3 separate regions of the Homo sapiens genome follow, and regions 1 and 3 are each linked to region 2. Evidence: promoter capture Hi-C in 16 types of primary human blood cells and fetal thymus (Javierre and others, 2016). All regions are on one chromosome and are shown on one strand. The core of a region is centred on a gene start or on the middle of the fragment in contact, and the rest is flanking DNA. Distances in the headings are between cores, read along the strand shown. Region 1 holds the start of RPL26 (ribosomal protein L26). Region 2 holds the start of BCL6B (BCL6B transcription repressor). Region 3 holds the start of TRL-TAG1-1 (tRNA-Leu (anticodon TAG) 1-1).

What was found. Contacts are between HindIII fragments. The CHiCAGO score rates a contact against its expected background, and 5 or more counts as called.
Region 1: the fragment with the promoter of RPL26 here is called in contact with the fragment with the promoter of BCL6B in region 2 in 1 of 17 cell types (activated CD4 T cells); the score reaches 5.2 in activated CD4 T cells.
Region 3: a fragment that was not itself captured here is called in contact with the fragment with the promoter of BCL6B in region 2 in 3 of 17 cell types (activated CD4 T cells, fetal thymus and naive CD8 T cells); the score reaches 6.1 in activated CD4 T cells.

What each region holds. Positions count from the first base shown.
Region 1 is chr17:8,381,883-8,384,582 of GRCh38, forward strand. It overlaps RPL26 (ribosomal protein L26), which reads right to left and starts at 1,311. Exons shown (of 4, transcript NM_000987.5): 1 at 1,275-1,311; 2 at 261-433. The coding sequence starts at 428. RefSeq lists enhancers at 769-1,486, 1,066-1,235, 1,487-2,204 and a silencer at 1,636-1,905. The HindIII fragment of the contact is 10,171 bases long and covers 1-2,700 here.
Region 2 is chr17:7,021,766-7,024,581 of GRCh38, forward strand. It overlaps BCL6B (BCL6B transcription repressor), which reads left to right and starts at 1,285. Exons shown (of 9, transcript NM_181844.4): 1 at 1,285-1,334; 2 at 1,895-2,085; 3 at 2,318-2,539; 4 at 2,636-2,816. The coding sequence starts at 1,907. RefSeq lists a silencer at 239-378. The HindIII fragment of the contact is 4,378 bases long and covers 1-2,816 here.
Region 3 is chr17:8,119,966-8,122,843 of GRCh38, forward strand. HES7 (hes family bHLH transcription factor 7) reads right to left here. Exons shown (of 4, transcript NM_001165967.2): 3 at 2,378-2,465; 4 at 627-2,072. The coding sequence ends at 1,606. TRL-TAG1-1 (tRNA-Leu (anticodon TAG) 1-1) reads right to left here and starts at 430; the gene lies at 349-430. TRR-TCT2-1 (tRNA-Arg (anticodon TCT) 2-1) reads left to right here and starts at 960; the gene lies at 960-1,047. RefSeq lists silencers at 276-485, 1,426-1,885, 2,106-2,215. The HindIII fragment of the contact is 3,122 bases long and covers 1-2,878 here.

The sequences.
Region 1 (2,700 bases), core at 61-2,560, 1.4 Mb after region 2:
GGCACCACTGCACTCCAGCCTGGGGGGGACAAGAGCGAGACTTCATCTCAAAAAAAAAAAAAAAAAAGATTTTCACCAAATAATACAATTAAAAACTGAAAAGCAGCTTACTTACTGTTTTTTGGTCCCTGGCTCAACTCATCTTGCCACTCTTTGGGAGCAAGAGTCTCAGAAGCATCTTTCTCAGGAATGCAATCTCTCTTCTAAGCTAAGTGCGTAAAATATCCATCAAGACAACGAGAACAAGTAGGGATACACACCTGAACTTCATCATCCTTTCGGATGGGCATGGATCGCACGTTGTACTTCTGTCTCAGCTCTTTGGAAAGAGGGGAAGACATAATCTTCCTTCGAATGTGGGAAGGTGCATTGAAATGCCTTTTGCGATTCTTGCTTCGGTCGGAAGTCACAAAGGGATTAAACTTCATTTTGGCTAAATAAAAAGTTAAAAAGACTCTTAAATGACCAAAATCTCATCCAGCTTCCAAACAAATAACCGCAATGATTTTATCTTGATAGTCTAGAATGATCATAGGCAGTGTCATGTTGTGCAACTTCAACAAAAACTGTTTGATCGGAAGGGCCTATCAACCGAAGCTCGAAACTTTTTATTTTTTGTTTTATTCGGGTGTTTTCTGTATATGTTTACGGACTAAAGACTTTTGCATCAAAAACACTTGTCCTAGTTATAAGACCTTTTAGTTACACTCTCCCAACTCCTCAAGTAGTGCCTGAGGAAATCAAGACTGGACTTACATCTCTGCTGAGCAGACCGACAACGCAATTCTCTTAACTATAACCTCACGTTTTAGAAGGTACAATCAACGTTCATCTTCTACAGGCTTAAGAGTGAATACGTATAGCCCCGCCAAAATGAATAAGGCCCACCAACCCGAACCTGGAAAAGCCTGCACACGTCTCGGGTCCTAAAAGCCTCCCAGTGGGCAAGTGTGGTCTGGAAATTCCGTGAAGACTTTACCGAGAAGTTACTTCGAGACCATTCTCTAGGAAACGACACTACCCAGACTCCAGTCTATTTCCACAGGCTCCCTTCCCTCAGCTCGTTTTCGAGTTCCCAAATCCCCGGTCCCTCCATCCATCTCCGGCCCGGCGGCCCTTGATTTAAGAAAGCAACAGATAAAAAACCATCCCAGTCTCTCCTTCCTGGCTGCTACTCGGCCGACAAGAGACTCTCGGGGTCCCCGCGGTCGGAAGCCACCATGCCCAAGAACGGATGGCTGCTGATTACACCCGCTTGCCCGCCGAATCCTTACCCGCTCCCGCTTCGGTGATGGCCGCAAAAGGGAAGAGAACTACACGCTGCTTCCGGTTCTGTAAGTTTACCAAAGATCTCGCGAGACCTATGTCTCTCGGAGCGAGAGGGGCGCGGAGTTTGAGCGAGGGGAGTAAACTGGGAAATAAATTTATGGCTAGTGTCACCTAGTGGCTAGGAGGGGAACTGCGAGGGATTGCAAAACTCCCCTCCTCCAGGTCCTAGTGTCTCCCTTCCGAGACCCGGGTGCTGCCGCTGAATCCTCTGGGAAGGGTAGTCCCGGGGCTATTGGCTAAGGCTGCTCAGGGTCCAACTGCCCCTGGGGGTGATGAAGGAACGAGCGGCCCCAGGAGACCGCCCAGGAGACCCGCTGGTACCTTCACTCCCAGGTGCCGGGGCGGGGGCCGGCACCCCTTAGCCGGGGAAGCGCAGGCCCTGCTTCTGGCCGCCAGGAGGCGCGGGGACGCCGGCCGGCCGGTCGCCTGGGTCCCTGCACTCACCGTCCCCTCCCGCCCGTGGCGTGGGCGCGGCCAGCGTGCCGGTACTTTAACGAGCTCCACCGCGACGCCGGCCACCGCCCCTGCACCTGGGCGTCTGCTGACCGCACAGCAGGGCCCGCCAGAGATTCAGTTCTGGGTGGTGAGGGGCCTTGCGAGGACCAGGGCCACCGATCGCCGCCTGCCCCCGCGGAAATAGGTCCAAGGCCGCGTTTCCAAGGCGCCCCCAGTGCTGTGGGAGGTGCTGGTCCAGACCACGCTTCGAAGGAGCCAGGCGAGAGGAAGCCTCTCGGTGCGGGGAGCTGCGCGGGTTTCTAAATGCTCGGCCTGTTTGCGTCCAGTTCAGGACCAGACGGAAGCCGTGCGCTCCCTGCAAATGGTTTCTTTTCTTCTTCTTCGTGTGTGTGTGTGTGTGTGTGTGTGTGTGTGTGTGTGTGTGTGTGTGTGTGTGTGTGTGTGTGTGTCTTTTTCTTCTTTTTGAGACAGTTTCGCTCTTGTTGCTCAGGCTGGAGCGCACTGGCACGATCTCCACTCACTGCAACCTCCGCCTCCCGGGTTCTCCTGCCTCAGCCTCCTGAGTAGCTGGGATTACAGGCGCCCGCCACCACGCCCGGCTAATTTTTGTAGTTTTAGTAGAGACGAGGGTTCACCATGTTGGCCAGGCTGGTCTCGAACTCCCGACCTCAGGCAATCCGCCCGCCTCAGCCTCCCAAAGTGCTGGGATTACAGGCGTGAGCCACCGCGCCCGGCCCCTGCAAATGGTTTCTGAGGCAGCGGCAGTGCAGCAGGCACCGGCGCTGAACGGCTTCTGCTGAATGAATGACACGGGTGTCACAGTGACAGAGGACAGGCGTTTCACAAGAATACCGAAGACGTAGTGAGCCTTCTGAGTGTGGGGACGCTCTTCTCTACACTTTACATCATGAATTC
Region 2 (2,816 bases), core at 35-2,534:
CACCCAATTTTAATGTTCAATTAAAAGTCACCTCCAAAGACATCTGGGTAGCAGTGTCTAGCTTAATTCGAAAAGAAAACCCGGAGTTCCCAGGCTCAGGTCCCGCTTCTTGTCCCACCCATTCCCCTGGCTCCTAAAGCCCGCGATTTCTCACCTCGGGTAGGAACCCCAGCCTGAGGGGAAAGTCCCCTCGGTCTCCTAACTCTAGCTCCCTCCGCCCAGCCCTAGTCCCCTCCTAGGAGACAGAGGTGCAAAATAAACCCGCGCAAAGGGGAGGAGGCTAAAGGTTTCAGCCGCCCAGACCAAATGGATCCTGCGCCCGGGTCTGAGCGCACCCCAGGCCGGGTGGAGACGAGGGGCGAGGCGAGGCCAGTGCTCGGCCGCCCCCTCGTGGAAGGAGCCGCACATTGCCGAGCCTTGCCTACTTGCCGCGCTGGACCCCGGCGTCCCGCCAGCCTCCAAGCGTAGCCGACGGGCGGGTGCCCGAGGCCCTCGTGAGCTGGGATTGGGGGAAAGCAAGCGGGCTTTGGGCGGGAGTCCATCTCTCTGGATCCCTACAAGGACCCAGAAGAGAGTCGGGAGCGAGAGAGGCCGGACGCCTAGGTCTCCCGAGCGTCTCTCGCCCCTCCACCCCCACCTCGGGGCTTTCCCCACCTCCTCGAGGGGAAGCAGCTGGCGGAGCCGTCCGGTCGCAGGACAATGGAAGGAAACCAACTAGAAATCATATCCGCCCTCTCCGTACCCCGCCCGGCCAGAGCCCCCCTTTTTGTAGGCCCGGGTAGAGTAGCCTGTCATTCACACCACACCCTCCCCGTCTGAGACCCTACGGGAGCCCACTGTCGTCTGCCCAAACCTGCTGTCTCGTTGGGCTCCCCCTTTTCTCCCTTAACACAGTACAAGAGAGGGAGAGGGGGTTGCCGTATGCACTTTGTCCTGCAGCAAAGGTTGGCTCCTGGCAAACCCTCCCAAAAGCCAACACACCAATTTTCACTGGCCCAGGCCTTCCGACGACTCAGACTCCCGTATTGCCAACCTCGATATCCCTAACCTCCTCCCCAATTCCAATATCCCCGTCCTCGTGTCCACTTGCAGTGACCCAAGACCCCCTACGTTACGACCACCCCTTGTTTCTGAGGTCCCGCCCTCGAGACGGAGACCCCGCCCTGGACTCGCCATCTGGAGAGCGAGGGAGGAAGGAAGGATACAGACCCAGGCGTTCACCCCACCTCCACCCCCGCCCCCGACATCCCGGCCAGATAAAGGAGCCGAGGCCAAGAGGGGAGAGAGACCCCGCCCCCCTTAAGAAGAGAAGCCGCGGCCCCTGCAGGACGGGGGTAAGAACAAGAGACTGAGGGAGCCAGACTCCTGGGTCCCCCAAGAGGGTAGGAGCTTGTGTGGAGCTTGCCATCAGCGAGCCTGAGTCCCAGAAATTGGGCTAAACTAGGGATTGGGGACTAGATAGGAGTCGCAGAATTCCGTAGTTCGGGGAAGGGAGCCTCGGCTGGGATTTGGAGGTGTGTGGACGGCAGGCCGTGAGATCTCGAGGCAGGGTTGGACACCTGAGACACAGGCGCGCAGAGGGGAGTGGCGGTGCTGGAGGGGCACTGGGGGTCGAACCCAGGGCGATGGGCGCGGGATTCCCCACGCTCGCCAACGACGCCGCGGTGTGGAACCTTCAACTGGCTCCAAGCGCTGTGGGATCTGGAAGAGGCAAGGGAGCGAGGGTGTCGTAGAGGGCAGAATGAACAAGAAGAATTAGGAGGGAGGCTGCGTGTGCCGGGGCTAGGGGCTGGAAGTCCTGGCTCTAGTTGCACCTCGGAAGGAAAAGGCAAACAGAGGAGGGAAGGCGTCTTAGGACTGCCTGGATCCAGAGCACTTTCCACGGCCTCTACAGGCCTGTGTCGCTATGGGTTCCCCCGCCGCCCCGGAGGGAGCGCTGGGCTACGTCCGCGAGTTCACTCGCCACTCCTCCGACGTGCTGGGCAACCTCAACGAGCTGCGCCTGCGCGGGATCCTCACTGACGTCACGCTGCTGGTTGGCGGGCAACCCCTCAGAGCACACAAGGCAGTTCTCATCGCCTGCAGGTTCGAGGGGTGGGGCCTGGGGCGGGGCCAAATGGGAAAGGGGTGGGACCACAGGGCCGTTGAGAGGGAATCCGAAGCCAAGTCTTTCAGAAGCAGGAGGCGGAGCGTCCCAGAATTGGGGGCGGGGTGATAGTGAGGAGGCGGGACTTTTTCAGGGGGCGGGGCTTCCTGAAGCTGCGCATGTCTCCCTTGGTTCCCCAGCCCCCAAAGGACTTATCTGCTCTCTCTCTAGTGGCTTCTTCTATTCAATTTTCCGGGGCCGTGCGGGAGTCGGGGTGGACGTGCTCTCTCTGCCCGGGGGTCCCGAAGCGAGAGGCTTCGCCCCTCTATTGGACTTCATGTACACTTCGCGCCTGCGCCTCTCTCCAGCCACTGCACCAGCAGTCCTAGCGGCCGCCACCTATTTGCAGATGGAGCACGTGGTCCAGGCATGCCACCGCTTCATCCAGGCCAGGTGAGGGACCCTGGCTCGGCGTTCTCTGTGGGTGAGGTGTTAAGGGCAAAGGCAGAGTTTAGGAAATGGCACTAACGTTCATCACACTTTCCCCAGCTATGAACCTCTGGGCATCTCCCTGCGCCCCCTGGAAGCAGAACCCCCAACACCCCCAACGGCCCCTCCACCAGGTAGTCCCAGGCGCTCCGAAGGACACCCAGACCCACCTACTGAATCTCGAAGCTGCAGTCAAGGCCCCCCCAGTCCAGCCAGCCCTGACCCCAAGGCCTGCAACTGG
Region 3 (2,878 bases), core at 173-2,672, 1.1 Mb after region 2:
AATTGAGTCCTATAACACAGTGTTAAGAGAACGTACAATAAATTATTTAAATATGTTGGAAGTTGAGCTAACATTTGAAAACATGTTAAAATAGAGATGTTATGAAGAAACGAAATAATAGAGATGTTATGAAGAAACGAAATATTGCTTCAGCAGTTACCATCAGGTCTTAGCTTCTGGGATGGATGCAGGCCTATGATCTCTCTGGAAGACCAAACACGGAAGATGATGGTGAAACCATTACCAGGGGAATTCGTAAAATTACTTTCTGCATGTAAATAGGTGTAACCTCACAGAACTGTTAACAGAACTGTAGCAGGTGCGTAATCCACCAGAAAAACTCCAGCCTGGCAGCGGTGGGATTCGAACCCACGCCTCCGAAGAGACTGGAGCCTAAATCCAGCGCCTTAGACCGCTCGGCCACGCTACCTGCACGAAAACTTACTGTCCCCGTTGTCCTCCTAAGAGACTAGAAGTAAGGAATGGGGCAAATCTTAAGAGTGCCAAATTGATTCGTCTCCTTTTCCACATCTTTTAGACTGGAAATGAAGAACCATCGAGACTGTGGACCGCATAGCAGCAGATGGCAGAACAGATAAACGAGAAGAGACAAAAACACACAGAAATTTACAACAAAACTAGTTTATTTGGGTGGGACTATATCTGGGAGTGGGGAGCGCCTGAGCCGGAAACACCCCCCAAGCGGGCAGCCGGAGCTCTGCACTCGCTCGCTCAGCCATTTTCGGTTGCTCTCCCTCCCTGTTTTTTCGACCCATGTGCGCCCTCTCTCTCACCTGGCTAACATGCTTTGCGCCCGCTACCTCTACCTGGCTTGGCCTCTGAGATCCAAACCGCGCCCTCCTGGCATGTCCCGCCCAAGTCCCTTAGCCCCGCTCCCCAACCCTGCCCCATTCCCACTCTAGTACCCGTAAGCTACAAGACGCCGCCGTTCGTCGGGTGGCTCTGTGGCGCAATGGATAGCGCATTGGACTTCTAGTGACGAATAGAGCAATTCAAAGGTTGTGGGTTCGAATCCCACCAGAGTCGATTTTATTTCAATTTTTCCTTTTTATCCGTTTTTTTCTTAAAGGCCCCCATCCCTTCTCCCCCTACCCTATCTCTCTCTTTCCACCTGGTTTCAATTTCGATCTCAGTTCCCGCTCTGCTCTCTTCTTTACTTACCTGTCTGCCCCGGGGCTTGGGCCATGGAGAGCAGGACTGAGGGTGGGAGACAGAAGGGAAGGGAAAGTGGGCGTGGACGTCGAGATAAAGGCAGGCCCCTGGCTCGGGGACACACGGGGATTTAATAACCACTTTATTCCATGCACTAGGGACTCGGGAAGGGACTGGGACTGGGCTGAGGGGCAGAGAGAGTACAATCCTAGACGCAAGGGAGAAGTTGGGGCAGGGAAAAGGGACAGGAACCAGGGAAATATATATTTATATAGATACTCTAATATAGACCACATCTCACCCGCGCGCTGAGCCCGCGCGCCCCACTGCCCTCCCCAACACCTGCTCGCCCGGACGCCCGGGTCCCTCTGCTGCCCTCGGGCTGGAGTCTCTACCCCACCCCTAGACCCCGCCCCCACCACCCCCCAAGGCTCAGGGCCAAGGTCTCCAGAAAGCGGGCGGCGGGGGCAGCGGGGCCTTGGGCGCCCCGTCTTGTCTGTGAGGCGGCGGTGGCGGCGGCAGCAGTCCGGTGAGGGGCGCCGGCGCGCCAGAATCCCCGGCGCGCGGGGAGCAGAGGGATGGGGACCATGCGCAGCGCGGGCTAGGGTGGCCCTGGTGCACTGGGGGGCGCTGGTGCAGCGCAGGGCCAAGGGCCGGTGCGGCGGGGTCCAGGGATGGGCGCGGCGCTGGAGGCCTCGGATCTACCGGCTTGGGCCGGGGCGGTTTGGGGCGCAGATAGCCGTGCAGCGCGGAGAAGAGCTGGGCGCGGGCGGCCGGGCTGGCGTCGTGCGCGAAGGCCGCCAAGCGAAGCAGGCACTCGCGGAAACCGGACAAGTAGCAGCTGGCGAGCGCCTCGGCGTCCTGGACTGGGGACCGGGGAACCCCTGGAGCCGCGGCGGCTGGTGCGGCCGGCGGGAGCACAGGTGGGCAGGGCAGGGGCCCGGCAGGGGTGAGGGAAGGGGCGGGGCGCAGAGATACCAAGGCCGGACAGGCGCACAGAGACAGGAAGCCAGATGGACGGAAAGAGGGAGAAAATGAGGGAGACACAGAGACAGACACGCGCGGGTGTTATTAACCTCGCCTCGGAGCAGAACCGGCCACTCCCCAAGCCCACCATCCACCGCAGGGCCCGCCCACTCTGCCCCGGCCGGAGCCTCCTGGCGTCCCCCCTCCCTCCCTCCGCTGCCCCACCCCCGCGCTGTACCCGGGGGCTCCACCCGGCTTCGCTCCCTCAAGTAGCCCACGGCGAACTCCAATATCTCCGCTTTCTCCAGCTTCGGGTTCCGGAGGTTCTACAGACGGGAGGGGAGGGCGCAGAGACAGAAAGGGGTGGGGAGAAAGGGGGAAAGTGGCAGGGGGAAGAAGGGAGGGACGGATGCGGGAGCTGGTGGTGCCCCCGATCGCATTTGCGCACTGCCCACAGAACGCGCGACCAAATGCGGAGTGGAGATGACCAAGGAAAGTCCTGGCCCACCCTGAGACGAAACTGTCCAATCCTAGGGGTTGGAACCAATGCCCAACGCGTGAGGAGGAGATTTGAAACCGCAACCCAGGGAATGAAATTAACCACCCGACATAACAGAGGCTGGCTCATCAGAGGCTGGCTGTGGGGGAGGGGGAACCGGACACTTAGAGACCCAAAGGGTGAAACTGACCGACCCCGGGAGCGAAATTTACAGAACCAGGCGTGAAACTTACAGACCCG